Regions from separate parts of the Homo sapiens genome. Here region 1 is linked to region 2. The links are contacts of gene promoters, found by promoter capture Hi-C in human tissues and cell types (Jung and others, 2019). All regions are on one chromosome and are shown on one strand. The core of a region is centred on a gene start or on the middle of the fragment in contact, and the rest is flanking DNA. Distances in the headings are between cores, read along the strand shown.

Evidence for each region. Contacts are between HindIII fragments. The study calls those that stand out against the background at their distance.
Region 1: a contact is called between a fragment that was not itself captured here and the fragment with the promoter of ABHD12 in region 2, in 1 of the 25 tissues and cell types used here (lymphoblastoid cells).

What each region holds. Positions count from the first base shown.
Region 1 is chr20:25,248,872-25,255,570 of GRCh38, forward strand. The region is part of intron 1 of PYGB (glycogen phosphorylase B); the gene reads left to right. Among named protein-coding and RNA genes, the nearest start is that of PYGB, 4.1 kb to the left of the region's middle. The HindIII fragment of the contact is 6,845 bases long and covers 1,965-6,699 here.
Region 2 is chr20:25,388,364-25,395,358 of GRCh38, forward strand. It overlaps ABHD12 (abhydrolase domain containing 12, lysophospholipase), which reads right to left and starts at 2,472. Exons shown (of 13, transcript NM_001042472.3): 1 at 2,150-2,472. The coding sequence starts at 2,340. LOC105372581 (a long non-coding RNA gene) reads right to left here. Exons shown (of 3, transcript XR_937403.3): 3 at 6,287-6,360. RefSeq lists silencers at 1,562-1,721, 1,892-2,051, 2,092-2,141, 2,182-2,601. The HindIII fragment of the contact is 14,157 bases long and covers 1-6,995 here.

The sequences.
Region 1 (6,699 bases), core at 4,137-6,636, 140 kb before region 2:
TAATCTGCAGGGAATTGTGAGACTTTTTTTTGTGTACGCTGCTTAGAAGAAAATCACTGAAGATGCCTGCTTCACGCAGGGAGGGGTACGAAGCTCAGAGATGGAGATGGAGCCCTCGAAGAAGGCTCTGTCTTAGAGGTTCCCACACCTCCCTTGGAGAAATTTGCTTGGGTTGAAGTTGACAGAGATCATCTTACTAATTGTTACTTTTTATATCTTGCAAAAATTTGTTTGAGTAGTGAAACAAAGTCACTGATTGTCCCCGTTACTCTTAACCATGTTTACTATGGGCCTGTGTTCTTGCTGTGTTTTTGGTATTCCTAAATATACATACACATTTTTAAAAAGTATAATGCACATACAGTTTTTTAGATTTTCTGTTTCATTCGTAAACATTTGTAACTTTTTCACTGATAAACAGCTTTGCAGGTCAATGGATAGGATGGTAGTTTTCAGTTTGATAGGTACATGGTAGTCTTGCACAGCCCCCTGTTGCCAGTTTTTTGTTGTTGTCGTTTGCTTTTAAACTCTTGACCATGGAGAATTGTCTTTCTACTACACTAACGTAGAGGGAGAACTGGTGAGGAAAAGACACACTTCCAGACCTGAAGCCACTTGGCAAAGATTTTACTTGCAGTGTACATCTAGGCAGTGAGCACTTGCTTTATGGATGGTATTTTAGAATATTTTTGTAGGGCATTAAGATATGTTTAATACGGTAATTGCTAAGAGATTGACTGCTTTTCCAAACTTATTCTGGGACATTCTTTTTTCTAAAATGGAGATGGTAAAAGGGACAGATTTGTTAGAATACCAACTGGGGCTCTTCATATTTGGTATGCAAAACATAGAAGTGGCAACGAATGGCCAAAACAGGTTATAACAAGGGCTTGGGATGACTTTGCCAGGAAAAGCAGCCAAGAAGCAGTGGCTCCCCCAGAATTCCCTGCTGTTGGGAGAGTTCTGATGCACAGCACCATTTTTTTTTTTTTTTTAATTCTGAGTCTTGCCCTGTAGCGTGAAGCTAGAGTGCAGTGGCGCGATCTCGGCTCAGTGCAACCTCCGCCTCCCGGGTTCAAGCAATTCTCCTGCCTTAGCCTCCCAAGTAGCTGGGATTACAGGCGCCTACCACCACGCCCGGCTAATTTTTTGTATCTTTAGTAGAGACGGGGTTTCACCATGTTGGCCAGGCTGGTCTCAAACTCCTGACCTCGTGATCCGCCCGCCTCGGCCTCCCAAAGTGCAGGAGTTACAGGCGTGAGCCAACGCACCCGACCCGCAACATCATTTTTATTGTCTAAGTGGCGGATGGCAAGGACATAGCTCTGCCTTCACATTCAAGGGCATTTCCTTGGAGCTGGACCAGGACTCAGCTCTACACCTTAGGGTGCCCATTGGAGTATTTATGTATAATCACATCCTGGAGAGGCCAGCGATGGGCTCAGGGATTACGGAAATGACCTTCATGAACAAGATAGTCCCTGCAACAAAACAGGTTTTTTGATCCTCCGTGAGATCTCTTTTGATTGTCTACGTGTGGTGGCTCTGGGTGGAAACCTTTCTCTTAAACCGCACAGTCTGTAAGTCGTAAAGTTGTAAACTTTTAGATCTCACAGTGTGTAAATAAGCTGTGTGCCTATTCTGAATAGGAAGGACATGGAAAATTGGGATTTAACTGCTTCTTTCGCTAATTCATGATGAAAATAAGCTTGCAATCCTTTCTTTGGAAAAGTTACATGCTTGCTGGTGATGGACCAGCAACCAGTCCCACCAGAGCCAATGAGAGGAGGTGTGCTCCCAAGAAAATAACTGCTGTGCCTCCCCCTCAGCCAGAAATGACCTCAGACATTCACCGGCACACTGCAGACTGTGGTAATGTGACACTCTAGAGCTCCTAAATAGAACGCTTTTATTGTTATTTTTGTCTTTTTTTAAATTATGCAAGTCCTGAAGGAAAAATTATTACTGGAGGAAAAATTAGAAAATATAGATAAGCCAGAAGGAAAAAAATTAACTGTAATCCTGTAACCCACTTCTATCGCCCACTTTGTGCTGTAAATATTTTGTGTTCTACATTGTTTTTTCCGTATTGGCAGAAACTTGTTTTTAATACATAAAATAACATTATACTGAACCTATTGTTTCATAACTCTTAGCACTTTATTTGTGGTACATAGCGAAAGAGTAGAAGTTGGGGTGTTCAGAGGAAGATTTGTCAAGCTTTGCCATGCTTGGCAAATCAGCACGTCAAAACATCTGGCTAACATGGAGAGCTTTGTGCTTGGCAAGAGGTGGCGGTTGGTCATGAAGACATTTAATGGATTCTCTGAAGTGGTGGCAAGGTGGCAAGGAGAGTCCAACCTGAAGCTGCAGAGCCTGGGATTGCGCTGCATGGAGAAGAAAGGGTGTGCGTGATTCCACGCTCCTTTTCATCCTGGCCTTTCCATTCGGTCTGTGCAACTGTGGGCTTGGGCGGATTTCTTTGCCATTATTGGCCTCAGTTTTCTCATCTTTAAAATGAGGGGAATCAAGCTGGTGATGTTTCCGAAGTCTGTTGCCATTCTGAAATGTTAGAGTTAAAATGTTTCTATTTCATATTGAATTGACATTCCATCTCTATCCAGAGAGAATTTGAGGATGCTTATGCTAGATACAGCACAAAAGGTTCACATTAGAAGGCCTCAGAGTGAGGGTTGGGGTGGGACAGTGAGGGTCAGGACACAAAACACAGACCAGGATCCTGGCAGTGAAAGCAGCCCATGCCCAGTTATGAGAGTCACGGGATCCCTTCTATAACATCCTGAAAGGACAGTTGCACGGTTTATTCTGTGGGCCTTTGTGAAGCTGTGTTGTCGATGTGCTGAGCCACTGACCTGCAGCACCCCTGCAGTGGATGTAACAATCAGTTTTTGAGACTCTTCCCATAAGCTCCTGGCATGACTACAACACAGATTAAGGAAAAGCAGCTCTACCTTGGGGCCCACACTGCTGTCCTAAATATTCCTAATGAGATAAACACAATGAAATACGATTAATCTTTTGGTTTGGCTGGACCCAGGAGTTAAAGAAGATGATCTAGAGAAGTGTTTTGCAGACCCTTCTGCTCTGTGATCCCCACTTCTGGGATTTGTTTTAATTAGTCAGTTGTGGTACCAGCCTCCGGAATCCTAACACTCCCAATTTTTCTGATGTATTTCCACTTTTATGTGTGAAGTTGAGCTTGCATCTCCTGGGCAGGCTTCCCTGACAGCAGATCGCTCAAAGTCATTTTCTCTGACCAGTAGCTGATGGTGGGTGCTGTTTTGTGTTGCTGACAGCTAGCCACTTGGAAGGTAGGCCTCAGCTGTCATTTTAGCAGATGGAGAAGCCTACAGTGTGTGCCTTCATTTTCTGCAGAAGACAGCCTGGCCTCTGCCCTTGCAGGCTGTGGTGGCTGGTTTTATGTGTCAACTTGGCTGTTGTGCCTAGATAGTAACGTGGATGTCCCTCTGGGGGGGTCGGGGGGTGGTGTTTCCCACACTGACTGAGCATCTTACAATTCAGTTCCGTTCTGATGCTGTCTACCTAGATGTAGCCTCGGATCCCACAGGCTAAAGGCTCAGTCCCACAAGACTTCTCCACCCCAGATGTCAGTTGCACATCAGGACCTCCCTTCTGACCTCTGACCGACAGCCTCCTCAGGTTTGATGATTTGCCAGAATGGCTCATGAAACTCAGGGAAACACTTCACTTGCGTTTACCAATTACTTACAAGGAATACAACCCAGGAACAGCCAGATAGAAGATATGCAGAGGGCAGGTCTGAGGGAGGGTGCAGGGGCTTCCATTCCCTCTGCAGGTGCCACTGTCCCAGCACCTCCAGGATTCACTGAACTGGAAGGAAGCTCTTCCATCCCCTTCAGTTGGGGATTTTATGGAGGCCGCAGTTACCTAGTGTGATTATTGGCCATTGGTGATGAGCTCAGCCTTTAGCCCCTCTCCCTTCACTGGAGGTTGGGGCTGGCGGGAGGGGTGGGCCTGAAACTTCCAACCCTCTAATTAGAGCTGGTTCCCCTGGCAGCCAGCCTCTGCCCTGAGGGGCTTGCCAAAAGTCACCTTTTGGTGACCACATCAGGCGTGGTTGAAAGGGACTTGTTATGAATAACAAAAGACACTTCTTTCATTTTTATTGCTCTTATCACTTAGGAAATTACAAGGGTGTTAGGAGCACAGGCCAGGAAGAACAAATAAGTATATCTCATTACATCACAGTTTCACAGCCTCCCATGGGGGAAGGCCTTGCAGAACAAACCCTGCCACCAGCTACCTTGCACCAGAGCTGCAGCTTGCCTGGGTCTCCAGCCTGCTGGCCCACCCCACTCTGTAGGTTGTGGCCTTGCACTTCAGAATCACTTGAGCCAATTTCTTAAATCTGTCTCTCTCTACACATACCTTACTGTTCTGTGTCTCTGGAGAACCCTGACTAATCCACAGGGGCCGTGGTGGCTTTATAAAATATGGCCGGGCGTGGTGACTCACACCTGTAATCCCAGCACTTTGGGAGGCTGAGGCAGGTGGATCACCTGAGGTCAAAAGTTCGAGACCAGCCTGACCAATATGGTGAAACCTGGTCTCTATTAAAAATACAAAAATTAGCCGGGCGTGGTGGTGGACATCTGCAGTCCCAGCTATTCGGGAGGCTGAGACAGGAGAATTGCTTGAACCAGGGAGCCAAGACTGCGCCATTGCACTCCAGCCTGGGCAACTCTGCCTAAATAAAATAAAATAAAATAAAATAAAATAAAATAAGGTAACCGACCTCACCTCCACATCTCAGCCATATTTCCTTTTAAACTTTATGTGATTTCAGACCCTTAAAAAGTTGCAAGAATAATACAGAGATTTCTTGTAATTCCTGTTGACGCTTCATCCGGATTCCCCAGATGTTAAACATTGCAACACACTTGTTAGGTCATTTTGTCGCTGTAAGTTCATTTTTCTCCGAATCATTTGAAAGTAAGAACCAGCCTGACCAACAAGGTGAAACCCCTTCTTTACTAAAAATACAAAAATTAGCCAGGCATGGTGGTGGGCGCCTGTAGTCCCAGGTACTTGGGGGACTGAGGCAGGAGGATTGCTTGAACCTGGGAGGAGCAGGTTGCAGTGAGCTGAGATCACGCCACTGCATTCCAGCCTGGGCAACGGAGCGAGACTCTGTCTCAAAAAAAAAAAAAAAAACTGAGTCATAGCCTTGTTGCCCCTTCACCCCCAAAAACGGCAGTGAGTACTCCGGAAAAACAGGGAAGCTCTCCTACACACCCACAGTAGAGCAGTTAAACTCTGGACATTTTAATCAACACAGTGCTGTTGTCTGCAAATCTTTTCAGTGTCACCAGCTGTCCTGCTTAATAAATACAAATAAAATGCAATAATACAATTGTAAAAAATACAAATAAATAATTGGGAGAACTTTAGAAGTCTTTTCAGATTATATCTTTTATTATTATTATTATTAAACGGATCAAAGCTTTAAGCCATTTGGAAATTCAAAGCATCCTAAGACATGCAGCAAATAACCGCAGGAGATAGGAGCTGGCTTTTTCTCACCCATGCAGAATGGCATTCTTAGGATACGGTGAAGGGAAGAGAAGTGAACACAGATTTAGAAAGGTAATTGGACAGTAAGAGAAGTTCGGTTAACAGTGTCTTCAACAGTACCTTGAGTAGGAATGACATGTAATTTTAGGTATAGGTAAGTGGCATTTCTCGGCCTACAAACAGTTAAAATGAAAGATTAAAGTAGTGTTTAAAAACGATGACTGGTAGCTCACTAGGTATAAATATAGTTTGACACGGTCCAGATCACTTAGTGTAAGTTGATTAGGCTCTGTCAGTGATAAGGAGAAGGCTCCCATCGCTTTCTGGCTCTGGATTAGTACTGAATAGACTTTTTGTGGAGCTTAATTGCATAGAAGGCGGGAGACAGTGACTTGTGGCAATGTGTGTCATGGAGTGTAGAAGGAATTTGTTTACTACAGAACCAAGTGATCTCTTAAGATCCCCATAAGTTCTAAAGTTCTATAATTCTTTTACATTTGACATTTTCAAAATTGAGCAAACAGACCTGTGTTTGAGTCGTAGGTACTGGAGTGAGAAGGAAATCCACGATCCACGTTGAGAAGCCTGCCCACTGTTCATGGGAAGCCAAGTTTCCCTGGCAGTTAATTCATTAAGAAAGTACCGTGTGACATCACAGGCTGGGAGCTTGAGAGATGTGCTAGCTAATCCTCACATCCTTACAGCAGATACAGTAGTGGATTATCAGATTGCTCTGTGAGCAACTCCCCAGAAGCCCCCTCAGACACAGTGGAGTGGACACTGTGACACTGTCAAGGAAACCAAAGACCAACCTCAGCGTCTGGCAGGTGGGAGGCCCCTCAACATCTCTCCTCCCACAGGACCTCGGTTCCCCTGGATGGTATCTGAGACTGCTCAGCTCACCAGCAGGAGCCAGCAGGTCCAGCCCAGGGAGGTGGCCCCTTTGTGTCTGGAGGGGCTGGGAGCCCCCGCTCCAAGGCCTGGCTGGTGGAACGTGGTGCCCACTGGCCTCTGGCTGGCTCAGTGGCCTGTGTTCCTGTGTCTTATCAGGGCCAGCTCTGTCCATAGTGCCTGGGTGGCAGGGAGGGACACTCTGCCCTGTGAGTCACTCTGTGCCCATGT
Region 2 (6,995 bases), core at 1,222-3,721:
AAACAAAGCTCCTGTTCTCATGGCGCTTCCATTCTGGTTGCGGGGGAGGCACACGAGCAAAAATTACAATCTCGAGTGATAACAAGGTCGACAGGAGTGGGCTGGTCTAAGAAGGCCTCAGTGAGGAGGAGGTGATGGTGGCGCAGAGCCTGAGCGAGGAAGAGAAGAAAGCTCAAGGATGTCTGAGACAGCCAGCTGGGAAGGAAGACAACCTAACAAATTTGGTCTTCTTTCCCTTTGTTTTGCTTTTTACCCCTAACAGCCTTTTGCTTATCCAAAGGATATGGACACCACTGGAATGTCTCTCTTTGTCCTGACACGAAAATAAAAATTAATCGGGTAATTTTAATACAGTACATTCTTCAAGAAGGTGCCAGGTCGCCGCTGTTTCCCCAAACGTTGTGTAAAACAATTTGATTTTTTCTTTTTTTTTTTTTTTTTTGAGACGGAGTTCCGTTCTTGTTGTCCAGGCTGGAGTGCACTGGTGCGATCTCGGTTCGGCGAGATCTTGGCTCACCGCAACCTCCGCCTCCCAGATTCAAGCGATTCTCCCGCCTCAGCCTCCCGAGTAGCTGGGATTACAGGCATATGCGCCACCACGCCCGGCTAATTTTGTATTTTTAGTACAGACGGGGTTTCTCCATGTTGGTCAAGCTGGTCTCGAACTCCTGACCTCTGATAATCTGCCCGCCTCGGTCTCCCAGAGTGCTGGCATTACAGGCGTGAGCCACCGCGCCCGGCAATTTGATTTTTTCGAAGGAAGAATTTTCCAATTTATCTAAGCGTTATGCCATGTCTGTTAATAAAATTGTATTAAAGTTAAATCATGAGTTTTTAATGCAGATAAATCTTTCCATAGCAAAGAGAACAGATTAGTTTCACAAAAGATATTGATCAGATGCTACATAATTTTACACATAAAGACACAAAACTATCAGTCTCCGCCCTTCTGTCAAACCATCGACTTAGAAGTGTCTATAGTTTAATTTCATGATTTTTTTAAGCAATGAAGTTGAAATTCTACTTTTCCTTAGGAGCGATACGCATATTTTACACTCAAGTGGCCAGCGTCAACTAAGGGCATTCCAGATGGTCAAAAAAGAAGTGCCTCTGCTACAACGCCTGAGATCATCATATAGTAACTTCTTCAAACCACCACGAAGTAGCAAGGCTTCAAAGCTGTCAGGAATGCTACGTTCTACAACAGCCAGATAATTAGGAAACCAGCAGATGGGAGGAGAAATCTGTCCCTATGAAACACGTTCCCATCTCAGTTTTGAAAGTGGCTTTATATAAACGCATTCATCTTCTACCCAATAACCCAAAGGTTATTGAACGCCAATAACCAAACGACTCAGGACTGCGAGATGATTCCCAAGGAGGCGAACTTGTGCGGACAGATTTCAAGTACCACGAACCATCACCAGCAGAGCGAAGGGCAGGTTTCCCTCCGACGGCTGCGATGCTCCGAGTCCCTCCTTCCCCTAGCACCCCGCCGCCCACTGAGCCCTTCCCCAAAGGTCCCCGAGTTCTGAGCGACGCACGCCCCCGACCCTAGTTACCGGGGAGAGCCGCCGAGGGCCCAAGGCGCCAGTAAGGCTCCGCGCACGCAGCCCAGCCCGAGGGGCGCCCGCCCGGGCGCTCGGTGTGGGGCCTGATGCAGAGCAGGAGGAGGAGGTCCGAGTGGGCCCCAGCGCTCTCAGGGTCTGGCGCCGGCCCCTCTGCCTCCCGCCTCTGCTGTGCCTGGCGTCCAGGGATCTTCCAAGGACTCCCCACCCCCTACCCTGCTCTCCCACGCGGGGTCATGACTTCGGGCGGCGCCAAGCCCCCAGCGTAAGGGTCCCCCCGGCTTCCCCGGGAAAGGGTCGGGGTGCAAGGCTAGGCCAGGAGTGCCTGGCGAGAGGGCCGGAGCAGGACACAGGGGGTCAGCGGCAGGGCAGGGCGCTCCCGCCGCGGTGCCTGGGGAAGGGAGCGGGGGTGGGGCTGCCGCGGGCCAAATGCGGGACACAGGCGCGGACGGGGGCGGCCGCGGATCGGGCGGACGGCCACTCTGGGAGGGGCTGGGAGGTACCGCGGCCCCCTGCGGGACGCACCTGCGCAAAGTGAGGGACCGGCCCCCCCCCCCCCCCCGCTCCGCGCGAAGCCTCACCTGCCCAGCGCCCGCTTCATTCCCGCGTCGGCTGCGCAGCGCGGCTCAGCCGCCGCCGGGCCCGTCAGGCGTAGGTTCTGCTTCAGGCGGCAGTCGGCGTCCAGCGCCGCGGCGGCCGAGCCGGAGGAGGACGAGCCCGCGGCGGCGCAGCGCTCATGCTCCAAGGCGACGGGCTCGGTCCGCTTCCTCATCCCGCGGCCGACAGGGCCAGCCGCCGACGGCGCCCGCTGGCCTGCGCCGCAGTGCCGCCGCTCACAGCCGCCGCCACCCAGAGCCCGGAGCCCGGAACCCGCCGCTCCTCACATCCCAGCCCAGGCCGCTGCGCCGGCTACGAACCAGCGGCGGGGGCCCGCCAGCCAGGCCGGCCAATCAGCGCCGGGCTCCCGCCGGCTCTGCCCTACCCCCCTCCCCCGGCCCCGCCCCGGCCACCTCCTCTCTAGTTCCAAGGAGCGCGCGCCCAGCATCCCTGGCGCCACCCGCAGCCATTTTGTGGGAGGGTGGGCGAAGCTGCAGCGGCGCGTCATCTGCAGGGCAGGGCTCTGGGCTCCATCCGCAGGCTGCAGCTGTGCTCGCCCGGGCGCTCGGTGTGAGGAGCACCCGCTCCCGGTCGTGCCCGAAAGGGGTGGCCCAGCGAGGCAGAGCCGCAGCGCTGGGCTCCTCGTGCTTCTGTGAACGGAAAACCAGAGGTAGCAAATAGCAGTTCCGTTCTCGTGATTCTTAATTCTTTTTCCACAAGGACATTACCTTTAAAAGTATGCTTTCCGGTCGTCAGTTTTTAATTTGAAGTAAATGTATATACTCAGTGTTTACTTTTGGGCCGAACATCAGGAAATGAACTGCTTGAAAAATTTACTTTTTAAAAACCTGTGTTAGATTTTAGATTTTTATAAAGCAATTAAGACTACCTGATGGGAGGAAAATCCATTTCAAAGATAAATTCGCCCTTATGAAACCCAAATTTAGTACTAATTCAACCCATCCTAGAAAGAGAAAAGGAAAGAATAAAGGGCTGTTTCACAAATTTAGTTTTATAACTTTGGCTTTCTTCAATATGGCATTAGTTTTACAGATGATCTATAACAAAGAGAGATATTTGCTTATTCCAAAGTAACGTTAGAAATTTCAGCATTTGTCACTTTGAAAACTATTGGCAATTGATAAAGGTCAATTGGAAATGCGTTTAGAAATTCAACAGCTTTTTATATTAGTTTTTTCTTTTTTTTTTTTTTTTTTTTTGAGACGGAGTCTCGCTCTCGCCCAGGCTGGAGTGCAGTGGCGCGATCTCGGCTCACTGCAAACTCCGCCTCCCAGGTTCACGCCAGTCTCCTGCCTCAGCCTCCCAAGTAGCTGGGACTACAGGCGCCGGCTACCATGCCCGGCTAATTTTTTTGTATTTTTAGTAGAGACAGGGTTTCACTGTGTAGCCAGGATGGTCTCGATCTCTCGATCCCGTGATCCGCCCGCCTCGGCCTCCCAAAGTGCTGGGATTACAGGCATGAGCCACCGCGCCCGGCTGCTTTTTAAATTAGTTTTGTAATGATACTTTGAAATTGCAAAATAATTTATTGACCATATTACTAAGTGTTACAGCCTGCATTCATAATTGTGTCAATATCTCCAGATATACTTTTTAAAAACATTATGGGCCGAGCTCAGTGGCTCATGCCTGTAATCTCAGCACTTTGGGAGGCGGAGGTGGGTGGATCATTTAAGCACAGGAGATGGAGGCCAGATCAGCCTGGCCAGCATGGTGAAACTCCGTCTCTACTAAAAATACAAAAATTAGCCGGGTGTGGTGGCACAAGCCTGGGTGACAGAGCAAGACTCTGTTTAAAAAAAAAAAAAAAAAAAAGGCTGGGCGAGGTGTCTCACGCCTGTGAGCCCAGCACTTTGGGAGGCCGAGGCGGGCGGATCACGAGGTCAGGAGATTGAGGCTATCCTGGCCAATGTAGTGAAACCCCGTCTCTACTAAAAACACAAAAATTAGCCAGGTATGGTGGCACAACCCTATAATCCCAGCTAATTGGGAGGCTGAGGCAGGAGAATCGCTTGAACTTGGGAGGCGGAGGTTGCAGTGAGCTGAGATCACACCATTGCACCCCAGTCTTGGGGACAAAAGCAAACTTCTGTCTCAAAAAAAAAAAAAAAAATTAGCTGGGCATGGTGGCGCGTGCCTGTATTCCCAGCTACTTGGGAAGCTGAGGCAGGAGAATCGCTTGAACCAGGGAGTCGGAGGTTGTGGTGAGCCGAAATTGTGCCACTGCACTCCAGCCTGGCGACAGAGGGAGACTCCTCTCAAAAACAAACAAACAAAAAAATTAGCTGGGTGTGGTGGCGCACGCCTGTAATCCCATCTACTTGGGAGGCTGAGGCAGGAGAATTGCTTGAACCCGGGATGCTGGGATTCGGAGGTTGCAGTGAGCCGAGATTGCACCACTGCACTCTAGCCTGGGTGACAGAGCAGGACTCCATCTCAAAATAAACAAACAAACATACTATGGAATGTAAATTATAAATTCTTTATAGTGATGTAGTAACACATCCTGGAGAGATTGGAAATCTAGGAAATAACTAAAACGTAAAAAAAAAAAAAGAGGTTTTGACTCTATCGCTCACTTCAATTAAAAAAACAACAACAACAAAAAAAAAACAGCCAGGCGCGGTGGCTCATGCCTGTAATCCCAGCACATTGGGAGGCCGAGGCGGGCGGATCACAAGGTCAGGAGATCATGACCATCCTGGCTAACACGGTTTCACACCCCGTCTCTCTAATAACAATATAAAAAATTAGCCGGGCATGGTGGCGGGCGCCTGTAGTCCCAGCTACTTGGGAGGCTGAAGCAGGAGAATGGCGTGAACCCGGGAGGCGGAGCTTGCAGTGAGCGGAGATCGCACCACTGCACTCCATCCTGGGCGACAGAGTGAGACTCCGACTCAAAAAAACCAAACAAACAAACCAAAAAAAAAAAAAAAAAAAAACAAGGAAGGAAGAGCTGGAGAGGAAAAATCTGTACCGTGTATTGAATCTTTCTTACAGGCACGAGGCCCTGCCCACACAGTGCTCAACTCTTGGTGGTTGAGCCCATGCTAGTGATGCCCACATTTTTATCATTGGTCCACACCTCTCCTTGACCCTTAGGCTCCTCATCATTTCTGCTCTGATTTCTGACAAGCACCACTTCAATGCTGAGCTCCCAACTCTTCTCCCACCCCCAACTCCATCCATGACCTTCTCTGGTAATTCTATTGCAGTTCCTGGGGCCACAATTCTGGGGTCATCCTTGACTTCTCCTTTCTTGTGCTATAGCATGTCTATCACCAAGCCTTGTCAGCTGTGCTTTCAAAATCTATGAGAATTTAACCATTAAATTTTACCGCCTCCATGGTCCCCACCCTGGGCCAAACTGCTGTTATCTCTCACCTCCATTATTTGAATAGCCTAACTGGTCTCCTGCCTCCACTTTGCCTCACTTCTGTCCACTTAATTCAGCTGCCACATAGGGTTTTCTTGTTGTTACAAGGTCTAATTCTGTCATTTATTTGCTCACAACACCTAAGTGGCTCCCCATCTCACTCAAAACCCAAGGCTTACAAAAGGGTTTAACATGGCCCTCCCTGACTGTAGAGCACCCGATTCTGTCGTTGATCAGGGGTGCCACTTGCAACCTGCATGGACTTAGGGTAACAACAAAGGGTGGTGAACGTGAGAATAAAAGACAAGAGACAAGAGTATGTTTGGAAGAAGGGGTCAGGGGGCACCTTGCCTCTAGTGGACAAGGGCCCTGAGCTTTACACAGCCCTCCATATTTATTAGGCAAAACAGATAGGGATAAATGGGGGGTGATTGTGGGGTAATTGTCAGTCGGCTGGTTGGTTCACAGCAGGCTTGCCAGACTGCATCGTTTGAACAATAGACACTAGATTTCTCAGTAGATAACTTCAAGGAGCCCCGTGCCAGGGAGTGAGGCCCTCAGCCAACCTTTTGGTGGCAGGCGCAGTGTGAGTTTGCTCACATCCTGCATTCGTGATAGTGATAAACAGTTTGCTATTTGATCATATAGCCTCCAGTGGAATGCTGAGTTGATCATGATCCCTTTGGCCTTTTTGGCTCCCAACATCTCTCCCTTTGTGTTTATGTATTAATTGAAAGAATGTAAGGCCAGGCTGGGCATCTCTCATTCTCTGATTGGCAGTCCGTCCGATTTTACAGACTATGAGCAGAAGACAGAGACAAAACAACATTATTCCAAGAACTACATATAAATTGTTAATGTGGTGCTTTAGATAGGTCCAAGGGTTGAGGCTTGCCAGGCGTTGCTGGAATTTGGTCCAGTCTTCTAAAGCAGGTTGAAATTTTTGAGTTTGCTTATTTAAAACAAGAATTTTGTTTTGTAATTCACCAATATCAAAGGTGATGTTGGATGTGAACGCTCCCTGTAAATGGGCTTTCACAAGGTCCCATGGATAGTCACTTTGGTTATATTCTTAGTTGTTTACACAAATATGAGTGTGGTTAAAATGACAATGCAACTGATGCTGCAACTGCAAGCTCTGTACTTTTTCTCCTAACCAAAGGACCGTGGATTTTAACATTGCCACTTCAGTTTGTAACTCAGTGTTAATTTTATTCTGAAGTAGCCACGGTTGGTCAGCTGTGCGCGTCCAGTTCTCCAGGTACTGAGCTGTTTGAATAGAATTATGCAAAGCTACAGAGGACATCACAACAGAAGTTATTAGTGTGACTAAGGAAACAATAGCAAAAATTATGCCTAAGTCTCTACAGACACGATGCGTAAGCTGAGTTAGAAGAAGTTTCACAAAATGCAAAGCAGGCATGGCAGCCCAA